Regions from separate parts of the Homo sapiens genome. Here all the other regions are linked to region 1. The links are contacts of gene promoters, found by promoter capture Hi-C in blood cells and fetal thymus (Javierre and others, 2016). All regions are on one chromosome and are shown on one strand. The core of a region is centred on a gene start or on the middle of the fragment in contact, and the rest is flanking DNA. Distances in the headings are between cores, read along the strand shown. Region 1 holds the start of ZNF609 (zinc finger protein 609). Region 2 overlaps ZNF609 (zinc finger protein 609). Region 3 overlaps ZNF609 (zinc finger protein 609).

Region 1 (4,154 bases), core at 1,642-4,141:
GAAAAGTTGTATTTAATGTCCTAAATGGAAACCTCTTTTCCAGGCCCCAAATTTTTTTTTTTTTTTTTTAAAGACAAGGTCCTGCTCTATCACCCAGGCTGGAGTACAGCGGTGCAATCACAGCTCACTGCAGCCTCAACCTCCTGGGCTCAACGAGATCTTTCTACCTCAGCCTCCCAAGAAGCTGGGACCACAGGCGTATGCCACTACACCCAGCTAACATTTTTTATATTTTTTGTTGAGATGGGGTTTTGCCATGTTGCCCAAGCTGGTCTCGAACTCCTGAACTCAAGCGATCTTCCCACCTCAGCCTCCTGAGTAGCTGGGACCACTGGCATGTGCCACTATGCCCAGCTAGCTGTATTTTTTTAAATTTTTGTAGAGATGAGTTCTCACTATGTTGCCCAGGCCACTCTCAAACTCCTAGGCTCAAGTGATCCTCCTGCCTCAGCCTCCCAAAGTGCTGGGATTACAGGTGTGAGCACCATGCCTGGTCCCAAATAATTTTTTACACAACTAATAGTACATAAATATTATTTGAGCACTTCTATCAGATATGTACAATAGGATTCCTTCTAGTTTGTTCTCATCCTTCTCTCACTAATAATCCCTAAGACCCATACATTTTTTCAAAAATGTTTATTTCTTTGGCAAATTTCTTAATACAGAGGCAGATATAGACTTTTGCACAATGAGCAACTCATGTCCTTTCATTAGAGTTAAAATAAATATTGAAAGGTTTGTTCCCACAGCCCTTGCCCAGATAGGCAAATTCTGTGGCTTTTTTGTTGTGCTATTATTATTGACCAGGAAGCCACCATTAAAAAGGTACTTGGTTCTTGACTTTTTTATTTTTTATTTTTAAAGAAACAGGGTCTTGCTTTGTTGCCCAGGCTGGTCTTAAACTCCTGGGCTCCAGCCATCCTCTGGCTTCATTCTCCCAAAGTGCCAAGATTACAAGCATGAGCCACCACACCTGGGCTTGACTCCCCATCTTAACACTGCACAGGTTTTTAGTGGTATTCGGAAACAAACAAAAATCACTGCATGAGTGTTCCATTCATATAAAAGAATTAAATATGATGATTCAACTAAGAGTAGAACCTTCCCTTGAAGTCTTCTTCCTTAAGGGTCTGAAACAAACATCGTAGTTGAGTCTACCAGACACTATTCCTTCACAACTTAGTACAGGCTAGCCAAAGAGGCAGGCACAACATGGCTGGCATCCCTTATTCTTCTGAAAAATGTGTGCCAATGAGCTCTGCATTGTTCCTCACTCAAAAAGAAGAGCCTTTCTCTCTGGCCTCCTCCAATGGCAAGCCCCAGTCTGGAAAAGGAAGAAAATGGCACTGAGGAGCCTGGGAGATGGAGCATATCCAAAGCTCTCAGACAAGACTTGAACCTATGACCTTCACTGTGTACACAATAGGCGGGTGAGAGGGACCGGTTTATCTCTGCTGCAGCAGTTCTCAGCCCTGGGGTAGCGCTCCCGATAAAATGACACGACTATTGTGTGTGGCAGCAGAACAGTCATCTCCTCACAACAGCCTAAACCAGCACTCCCTCCCCCAAGACAAAGCAGCAGGGGTGAAATTAACTCAAGGCTGCAGAGCAAAGCCTAATACAGAAAAGGGAGGCCTGTAGGGGCTTGGGGACTCTCCTCAACCCCTTAGGCTCTGGACACATGGCTGGAAACAGACAGGCTTTCTTCCCTATCTTTCTCACTCTCATTTAGGTAGGGAGCTGTTTCTTAGAGAATTTAATCATCCGTGATTTGTTCAGAAATATTCCCCCTGAAGGGCTCTGATCTCTCCACCCTGTGTGAGCCTAATTCCTCGAAGCTGAAATGACTGTTTGCTGCTGCCTGTTTCACAAACACACATTAATTGGTCAGATGTGTCTCCTCCTCCTCAACCCCAGAGGGAGGAAGGAGAATCTGAGCAAAGCACAGAGATGATCCAACCGTAATTACACATAAAGGGAAAAGAGGGCAGCATGGGTTTTCCAAACAGGATAGGGTCACAAACCCTCCCGGGGGTACAAGGATAGCAGTTGAGGTCCAGGCCCAGGGATCCCTCCATCTTGAAGAAAAGGACAGGAGTAAATGTGACCTGAAGACTGTTAGGGGCACACACCCACAACCTACTTACTGCAGGATCCCAGCCACCTTGCTCCCCACTCCTAGGTCACGCACACGTCCTGCTTCCGACCCTATGCTCTGAACAACCACCACCGCCCCCGCCCCCCCTCCCCCGCCAACTCCCTGACTGGCCCCAGTCGCCCCGAGCGCCCTCAACATACCCAGACTCGCCTCAGAAACTCTCTGGCCTGCTCCCATAACCTAGCCAGACCCTAATCCCCTCCCGGGCACCCCTACCCTCAGCCTGAACCGGCCGTGGCCACGCTTTGAACTTCACCCCGCGCCCCTCGACGCCCCCTCCCCCACCCACGCAACGACCCCCCCTACACACCTTCCCCTCGCTCCGCCCCAGCCCCCCCAACCCCCACTTCCTCCGTCAGGCAGCGCCGCCGCCCCCGGCCCCCATCAGATCCCCTCAGCCCCGCGCCCCATCGGTGCCGCCGCCTCTTTCCTCCCCCAGTCCCGGCTCCACACAAAGCTCCGGACTCACCGCGCGGCCGGTCCCGGGAGCCGCCACCTCCGCCCGCCCGGGGCCCCGGGCCGTAGAGCCGCCGCTGCTACGGGGCCCAGGCCGCCATCCGTTCCCGCGGCCCCTCCCCCCCACCCCACCCCGGCTCCGGCTCCGGCTCCGGCTCTGGCTCTCTGCCCCCTCCCCGCGCCTCTCCGCCCCGCCCGGCCGGTGCCGCTGTGTCCGGGGCCGCGGGTCCCTCAGCCGCCGCCACCGCCGCCGCCGCCGCGATCCGGGACAACCAGAGTCACCCGGAAGACGCGGACACTGGACTGCCAGGCCCTCGGATCCGGATTCCGCGCTTGTGTGGAGTCTGGAGCCGGTGAGCGCAGGGGAAACCCGGAACCTGGATGAAGGAGCGAAATCCTGGGTCTCGGAATGCGCGCTCACCCGGAGCCCAGATTAGGGAGTCTTAGCTCAGGGAATGCTGGAAAACCCGGCGTGCCGGTTAGAACCAAGATAAACTCAAAGAAACCTGGATTAGAGAGCTCGAACCTAACGCTGTCCCCTCGTGGGCAGTAGAACTCTCGCTGGATCAGACTTCCTCATAGAGAGGTCTCTGGGGGGAGTATTGCACCTTATAACACAGAAGACACCTCTTCTGTAGTTGTCCTTCAACCACAGAGAGGAAAGGGCCGTAGGGGATCTGAACATGGGCATCCACAAAGAACAGAAGAGCAATCACAGCTCCTGATGGTTTCATCCATTTTACCCCTTAGTTCAGCAAAGTACCAACCTCCTAATTTTTTATCCTTTGTTCTCCAGCTTTCTCTTTTAGGATTACCACTTGCTTTTCTCCCCAAAGCACCCATTTCTAATCCCTCTATATATCCCTTTTCCCCTCACCATCCTCTATCACTAAATCTTGTTGCCTTTTATTATCTAAAAACCTTATTCTGTCCTTCTCCAACCCACCATTCTAAGGATTGTAGCTTTTATTTTTCCTTATCTGCTATTCATCTCTGATTGCCCAGCATACTATCTAGTGCACAGTAGGCATTCAGTCCATGTTTAAGTGAGCCCTCCCACCCAGCTTTCACTTGTGAAACATCTATTCATGACGACCTCCTAAGACTTCCATCTCATTCCATAGCAAACAAATTTACCTTAATTCTCAAGGCCTCCCACATCCTAGCCCCTATTATGTCCTTCCTGTGTCCTTGACCATTTTATTTTGCTTTGCATTTATCTTACCTTTTTTCCCTTATCCTGGGGCATCCTTCAACAGTGCCACTCAAGATAGCATGTGACTTGGAGATAAAGTGAGGTCATAAAAAGGTGGGGGGAGGGGTTGATAGCTAAAGATAAAAGTAAACCTTTCTGGTCTAGGAAAAATAATCTCTCTTTGGTCCACCAATAGTCATGTTGTTAGACAGTACAGGGGCAGAACTGATCCCAGGTGACAGCGAACTTCCAATGTATACTAGACAAAGTTACAAGTGAGGATTCAGCTACTTAGCAGGTGGAGACAGAGAAGGGTTTAGTGTTTTAGACTTAGGCATGATT
Region 2 (3,853 bases), core at 1,125-3,624, 190 kb before region 1:
TATGTCTTGCTCCCAGACAAAATTTGCTGTATACTTTGCAGTAAGTATCCATCTTCCTTTTCCACCTATGAAATGAACAATTAGAAGCATCCTAGACCTTAACTGTTACTACACACTGAATCTGGCCACTAAAGTAAGATTCAGACTCCAATATAATCCCACTAAAATTGTGGAAGAAGTTTCCCAAGTCCTAATGATACAGAAAGGATGCTTAGTCCCAGATACAACGGGTTACATATTTGGTTGCTTTCCCTAATTTTTTTTTTTTTTTTTTTTTTTGGTATGTGGTGGTGGTCAGACAGTATTTCCAATAATGCATACAACTTATTGTGCTTTAACATCTTCTATATATTATCTCATATTTAATTCTCTCACCAACCTCCAATGTATAATCATTCCCATTTTACAGACGAGGAACTGGAAACTCAGAGCAATCTGTTCCAATGTTATATAGCTAAATAAGATGCAAAAGCTAGGATCTGAATCCCAATCAATATGACTCTCAACTAAAGCCTGTATGGTTTGTTTTGTTTGAGGTTAAGTCTCACTCTGTCGCCCAGGCTGGAGTGCGGTGGCATGATCATAACTCACTGCAACCTCAAACTTCTGGCCTCAAGAAGTCCTCCCACCTCAGCCTCCCAAATAGCTGGGACTACAGGTGTATGACACCATGCCTGGCTAATTTTTATTTTTAAGTTTTCAGTAGAGACAAGGTTTTGCTATGTTGCCCAGTCTGGTCTCAAACTTATGGGCTCAAGCGATCCTCCTGTCTGGCCTCCCAAAGTATTGAGATTACAGGTGTAAACCATACTGCATGGCCTTATACGTATTTTTAACTACGCTGCCTCACAAGATAAGATTACACTTTCTTGGTTCTCAGGAGCTCGTATTTTCGGTGTAAAACACTAAATGGTTTACGCACTGCACTTGAGAATAAAACTGTGGACTAAAGCAAAAGACATCAACACCTGTAGGTTTATTTTGGGCTGAGAAGCAGGTTATTGATTTTACGTTTGACCTATTTCTACCAGAAAAGAAACAGATGCAGCAATAAAGCTACATACTGGTGGCAAAGTGAAAGACACACAGAACAGGTGGAAGAAGCAAAAAGAAAATGTCCAAGTAGGCAAAATGCAGCAAGAGGATAAAAAGAGAAAAGGGAGTTTGGACAAAAACCGAAAAGTCCAAAGCTGCAAGGTTATTATTATGAAACACATAATGTGTCTCCTTGGTATGTGAGGTACTTTATTGATGATGTAAAAAATGAAGCTCAGCTCTTGAAGAGCTAGAAAATTTAAGAAGTATCTTTTTTTAAACCATATAAAAGATATAATGACTAAGTCCATTATGATACATCCTTAACATGGAATACTCTGTAGTTATTTAAAATGTTATAGAAGGTCATTTAATGTTATGGAAATATGTTACAGGAATATATTTCTCTAAACAAAGAAGATTACGAAATATATAGAGAAGGGTCTCAATTTGTTAAAAATATAAAATAAAAGAAGCAACAAAAATATATAATATAAAAATTCAAACATTGGTTATCTCTGGGTAATTTATTCTTTTCCTCTTGGTGAATTTTGACTTTGTCTCCTAAATGTTCAACAATAAAAATTGTTACTTTTTCCTTTTGAACCATCACAATATCTAAAACTTTTTCATCACCTGAAATAGAAACTTTGTAGCCATTAAGCAATAATTCTCCATTCCCTATGCTCCCCACGGCCCTTAATATTCTTTCTGTCTATATAAATGTATCCATTCTAGATACCTAAGTGGAAAAAATACAATATTTGTCCTTTCGTGACTGGCTTATTTCACTTAACATGTATTTTCAAGGTTCATCCACATTGTAGAATCAGAACTTCATTTTTTTTTTTTTGGAGACAGGGTCTCACTCTGTCCCCCAGGCTGGATGGCAGTGGTGTGATCACAGCTCAAGCAATCCACCTGCCTCAGCCTCCTGAGTAGCTGGGAGTACTAAGTAAGCCTAACTGACAACATCCTATACAGTGATAATGAGTTTATCACTGCACGTGTTACCATACCAGGTTGATTTTTTTTTTTTTTTTTTTTTTTGAGACAGAGTCTCCCTCTGTCATCCAGGCTGAAGTGCCATGGCATGATCTCGGCTCACTGCAACCTCTGCCTCCCAGGTTCAAGCGATTCTCCTGCCTCAGCCTCCCGAGTAGCTGGTACTACAGGCATGCGCCACCATGCCCAGCTAATTTTTTGTATTTTTAGTAGAGATGGGGTTTCACCATGTTGGCCAGGCTGGTCTCGAACTCCTGACCTCAAGTGATCCGCCCGTCTTGGCCTCCCAAAGTGCTAGGATTACAGGCGTGAGCCACCGTGCCCAGTTTTTTTTTTTTTTTTTTTTTTTTGAGATGGAGTCTTGTTTCCATTGTGCAGGCTGGAGTGCAGTGGCACGATCTTGGCTCACTGCAACCTCTACCTCCCAGGTTCAAGCGATTCTCCTTCCTCAGCCTCCCGTGTAGCTAGGGTTACAGGTGTGTGCCACCAAACTTGGCTAATTTTTTTTGTATTTTTAGTAGAGATGGGGTTTTGCCATGTTGGCTAGGCTGGTCTCGAACTCCTGACCTCTGCTGATCCACCCACCTCGGCCTCCCAAAGTGCTAGGATTACAGACATAAGCCACCATGCCTGGCCGCCATTTTGTATTTTTTTCTAGAGATGCAGTCTTGCTATGTTGCCCAGGCTGGTCTTGAATTCCTGGGCTCAAGTGATCCTCCCATCTCAGCCTCCCAAAGTGCTGGGATTAGAGGCATGAGTCACTGTACCAGCTTTCATTTCTTTTTGTTTGCTGAATAATATTCCATTGTATGGCTATACCACATTGTTTATCCATTCATCTGTTGATGGACACTTGGGTTATTTCTACCTTCTGAATATTGTGAATAATACTGTCATATATTCACATACAAGTTTTTGTGTGAACATCTGTTTTCCATTCTTTTAAGTATATACCTAGGAGTAGAATTGCTGGATCATATGTTAATTCTGTTTAGCTTTTTGAGGATCCACCAAACTGTTTTCCACAATGGCTTGTACTCATTTTATGTTCCAACCAACAGTTCTCAAGGGTTCCAATTTCTCCACATCCTCTTGAACACTTTTTATTTTCCACATTTTTGATAACAACCATCCTAGTAGGTATGAAGTGGTAATTCATCATGGTTTTTATGTTCATTTCTCTTATAATTAATGATTCTGAGCATCTTTTCATGTGATTATTGGTCATTTAGATATCTTCTTTGGCAAAATGTCTATTCAAGTCTTACGCGCATTTTTGAATTAGGTTGTTTGGGTTTTTCATTGTTGATCTGTAGGAGTTCTTTATTCTAGATATTAATCACTTATCAGATACACGATTTGCAAATATTTTCTCTCATTCTATCTTTATTCTCTTGGTAGTATCCTTTGATAAACAAAAGTTATTAGTTTTGATGAAATCCAATTTATCTAATTTTTCTTTTGCTGGCTTGTGCTTTTGGTGTCATAGCTAAAAAATCAGGCATTACTTTTGAAATAATAAAATAATTTCAAAAATTAAAAAAAAAAATCAGAGGAAAAAACAGTTGCTAGTTGTGGGGCAGAAAATGTAGGACGCCGAGTGCAATGGCTCATGCCTGTAATCCCAGCATTTTGGGAGGCTGTGGTAGGCAGATCACTTGAGCCCAGGAGTTCAACACCAGCCTAAGTAACATGGTGAGACCCCATCTCTACAAAAAATAGAAAAATTAGCCGAGCATGGTGGCACACGCCTGTAGTCTCAGCTACCTAGAGGGTTGAGGTAGGAGGATATCTTGAGCTCAGGAGATGGAGG
Region 3 (3,853 bases), core at 826-3,325, 200 kb before region 1:
CGCCTCCCAGGTTCAAGCAATTCTTGTGCCTCAGCCTCCCAAGTAGCTGGGATTACAGGCGTGTGCCACCATGCATGGCTGATTTTTGTGTTTTTAGTAAAGACAGGGTTATACCATGTTGGCCAGGCTGGTTTTGAACTCCTGGCCCCAAGCGATCCACCCAACTTGGTCTCCCAAAGTGCTGAGATTACAGTAGTCACTAGGCCAATCACTTTTATTTTTATTTGTGTGTGTGTGTTTTTTTTTTTTTTTGAGACGAAGTCTTGCTCTGTTGCCCAGGGTGGAGTGCAGTGGCGCAATCCCTACTCACTGCAACCTCCGCCTCCTGGGTTCAAGCGATTCTCCTGCCTCAGCCTCCTGAGTAGCTGGCATTTGTTTATTTATTTTTTAATTTAATTTTTAATTTTAATTTTTATTTTTGAGATGGAGTTTTGCTCTTGTTGCCTAGACTGGAGTGCAATGGCGTGATCTTGGGTCATCGCAACCTCCGCCTCCCAGGTTCAAGCAATTCTCCTGCCTCAGCCTCCCGAGTAGCTGGGATTACAGGCATGTACCACCACGCCCAGCTAATTTTATATTTTTAGTAGATATGGGGTTTCTCCATGTTGAGGCTGGTCTCAAACTCCTGACCTCAGGTGATCTGCCTGCCTCGGCCTTCCAAAGTGCTGGGATTACAGGCATGCGCCACCGGGCCCGGCCCATTTGTTTACTTTTTATAATTTTTTCTGTTTGTTTAAAAATAGAGACAGAGTCTCACTATGTTACCCAGGCTGGTTTCAACTCCTGGTCTCAAGTGATCCTCCTGCCTTGGTTTCCTAAAGAGCTGGGATTACAGGCATGAGCCACGGCACCTGGTCTTAAATCACTTTTTGAGGAAGGCAGGCCATAAGTGGGTGCCAAAAATCCTGTCATATAAGGATTGTTAAGGCTACTTTGCAAAGGAGGAAATGATACACCAGAAAGGATAAATCATTTACTCAAGGGTTCACTATTAGTGGTCAGATCTTTCAGACTCTAAGGCCTGACACAGCTATCTCTAATGGATTCTGATTGTTTTCACACAATTTTCTTAGAATATCCTGTTACCTTCACCTTAGATAAAAGACACATACACATACAGGATTGCAGGGGGTCATCCAGAGGGGAAAAGGATAGGAATCCTATCCCTTTGCAGTGCCCTGGCATCTTAAGGGAAATGGCATCTCTCCTAAAGAAGTAATTAGGCTAAATTCTCTCTAGCTATTAGCAAAGTGATTTCAAATGGATGTCTCCCCCAAAAGGTGGCCTGCTCTGATTACTGCATAATCAATTTAATAGGAACAGAGTCCATTTATAGAGAAGGTAAGACTTAGAGATAGGCATCTCATTTATAAGGGCAGATGAGCACAGCTGTACACAGAGAGCAGGCACACAACTAGAAGATGAATCTCATTACTATTCTTGAAACAGCTGGGTGGGAACACATGTTTATAAATCAGGCTTCTTCCTTTGGTATAATCTGCAAACTTTAGCAATAATGAATGAGCTGAAGAGAAGACAGGTCAAACAAGGTGCTGGAAATGGGAGAAGGGAAGAGAAAAAATTATGATATGGAAAGACAAAATGGAGGCTTGTTTAAATGTCAAAGGAAACACACATTGATGAGGTTTAATAGTCTTCCTGCAAGGTTCCGAGTTGAGACAGCTGGAGAATAGGACGACAGGAAAGAAAAGCAGCAAATAACACTTAACAGACCAAGTTTCTCTATTAGGGGCTAGCTTTAGAGAAGCAAGTAGGCTGAAGAGAAAGAAAAACTGGTCTTCATCTTGGAAAACTTACTATTTTTCATAAGTGTTCACAAAATAAGGAAAGGCTCAGCATGTTTGAGGATAATACTGCTAAAAAACAGCAGTAATAAATAGTGCTCCGTGTTTCTCTAGAATCTTACTTTCAGATTTACCAAGTCTTATGGACATAATCTAAGTACCCATTATTAAGTTTTAGAGTACTCACTATTCTCCCTTCTTCAAGGTGATAAATATTGGAGCAGAGTAAAGGGAAAATGATGACATGTATGAGGCACTAGTCAGGTTCCCCTAGTTATTATTATTATTATTTTTGAGACAGAGACTCACTGTGTCACCCAGGCTGGAGTGCAGTGGTGCAATCTCGGCTCACTCCAGCCTCTGCCTCCCAGGCTCAAGCAATACTCCTGCCTCAGCCTCCCAAGCAGCTGGGATTACAGGTGTGCACCACCACACCTCGTTAATTTTTGTATTATTAGTAGAGATACTGTTTCACCATGTTGGTCAGGCTGGTCTCGAAGTCCTGCCTCAGGTGATCCACCTGCCTCGGGCTCCCAAAGTGCTGGGATTACAGGCATGAGCCACCACGACTGGCCAGGTTCCCACAGTTCTTAGGAGTGAAATGCTGAGACAAACTCAATCCCAAAGCAGCACTGCTTTGTTTCAGATAATAATTCAAAACCTCAAAACATTTGTGTAGTCAAGGCTGATCCAAGTATAATAGTAGAAAGAGAGAGAGAGATTTTTTTCTAGGCCCCTCATTTTTACTATTTCCATTAGTACATACTTTCTCTCAGGGATCTGGTACCTTCATGCTCAGCTCCTTCATGCTCAGACCAATTCCCTTCTTGAAACGCTTCCTTCACTTGGCTTCCAGAACACCATACTCTCCTGGTTTTCCTCCTATCTCTCTGGTCATTCCTCAGCATCTTTTGCTGGTACTTCATGTGTAGCTGATGACTCAAACTTCTATCCCTAGCCCCAACCTCTCCCCTAAACTCCAGATTCATGTATCTAATCACAAACTTGACATTTCCATTGGACGTCTAAATGGAGATCTCAAACTTAATATGTTCCAAACTGAGCTCCTGATACCCATCCTCTCCTTAACAACCCTCTCCTCCAAGAACAACAAAAACAACTTGCTCTGAATTCTCCCTATCTGAGGTAATGGCATGTGTACATCCTTCTAGGTGTTCAGGTCAAAACCCTTAGAGTTTTACTTGGTTCCTCTCCTACTATCCATGTCCCCACACCTGACCATCAGCAAATCTTTTTGGCTCAACCTTCAAAATATATCCAGATTTTGATCATTTCTCATTACCTCCACTTCTACTGCTCCAAGCACTCCTTAAATTATTGCAATAGCTTCCTAACTTGCTTCCATCTTTATCACTTTCTGACCTGTTCTCAACACAGAGACCAGAGAGATCCTGTTAAATAAAACCTCTCATATCCTATCATTTCTCTGTATAAAACCTTTTAGCTTTTGAACTCATACATACAGGTATAGGTGATACATACATCTGTATGTATCACCTATTCCCAAAAAAACACATAAAAATAGTTATTAGTTAGCCAAGCACGGTGGCTCATGCCTGTAATCTCAGCAATTTGGGAGGCCGAGGCAGGTGGATCATCTTAGGTCCGGAGTTCAAGACCAGCCTGGTCAACATGGTGAAACCCCATCTTTACTAAAAATACAAAAATTAGCCGGGCAGTAGTGGCGCGTGCCTGTAATCCCAGCTCCTGAGGAGGCTGAGGCAAGAGAATCGCGTGAGCCTGGGAGGCAGAGGTTGTGGTGATCCGAGATCGCGCCACTGCACTCCCGTCTGGGCAACAGAAAGAGACCCTGTCTCAAGAAAAAAAAAATTATTAGTTTTAGTAGAAATATCTCAATGTTTTAAAAATGCTTCATGGCCAAGCATGGTGGCTCATGCCTGTAATCTCAGCATTTTGGGAGGCCAAGGTGGGAGGATTGCTTGAGCATAGGAATTCGAAACTAGCCTGGGCAATGTAGTGAGACCCTGTCTCTAAAAAATTCTTTAAATTATCTGGGCTTGTTGGCA

Evidence for each region. Contacts are between HindIII fragments. The CHiCAGO score rates a contact against its expected background, and 5 or more counts as called.
Region 2: a fragment that was not itself captured here is called in contact with the fragment with the promoter of ZNF609 in region 1 in 13 of 17 cell types (naive CD4 T cells, M2 macrophages, non-activated CD4 T cells and 10 more); the score reaches 12.7 in naive CD4 T cells.
Region 3: a contact is called between a fragment that was not itself captured here and the fragment with the promoter of ZNF609 in region 1, in 5 of 17 cell types (M1 macrophages, M2 macrophages, endothelial precursors and 2 more). The highest score is 6.5, in M1 macrophages.

Annotation. Positions count from the first base shown.
Region 1 is chr15:64,459,315-64,463,468 of GRCh38, reverse strand. It overlaps ZNF609 (zinc finger protein 609), which reads right to left and starts at 2,891. Exons shown (of 10, transcript NM_015042.2): 1 at 2,631-2,891. LOC105370861 (a long non-coding RNA gene) reads left to right here and starts at 2,882. Exons shown (of 3, transcript XR_932367.3): 1 at 2,882-2,970. RefSeq lists silencers at 2,560-2,659, 2,720-2,839 and an enhancer at 3,300-3,369. The HindIII fragment of the contact is 12,937 bases long and covers 1-4,154 here.
Region 2 is chr15:64,645,172-64,649,024 of GRCh38, reverse strand. The region is part of intron 3 of ZNF609 (zinc finger protein 609); the gene reads right to left. Among named protein-coding and RNA genes, the nearest start is that of OAZ2, 56 kb to the left of the region's middle. The HindIII fragment of the contact is 5,059 bases long and covers 1-3,853 here.
Region 3 is chr15:64,662,474-64,666,326 of GRCh38, reverse strand. The region is part of intron 3 of ZNF609 (zinc finger protein 609); the gene reads right to left. Among named protein-coding and RNA genes, the nearest start is that of OAZ2, 39 kb to the left of the region's middle. RefSeq lists an enhancer at 1-13. The HindIII fragment of the contact is 7,407 bases long and covers 1-3,853 here.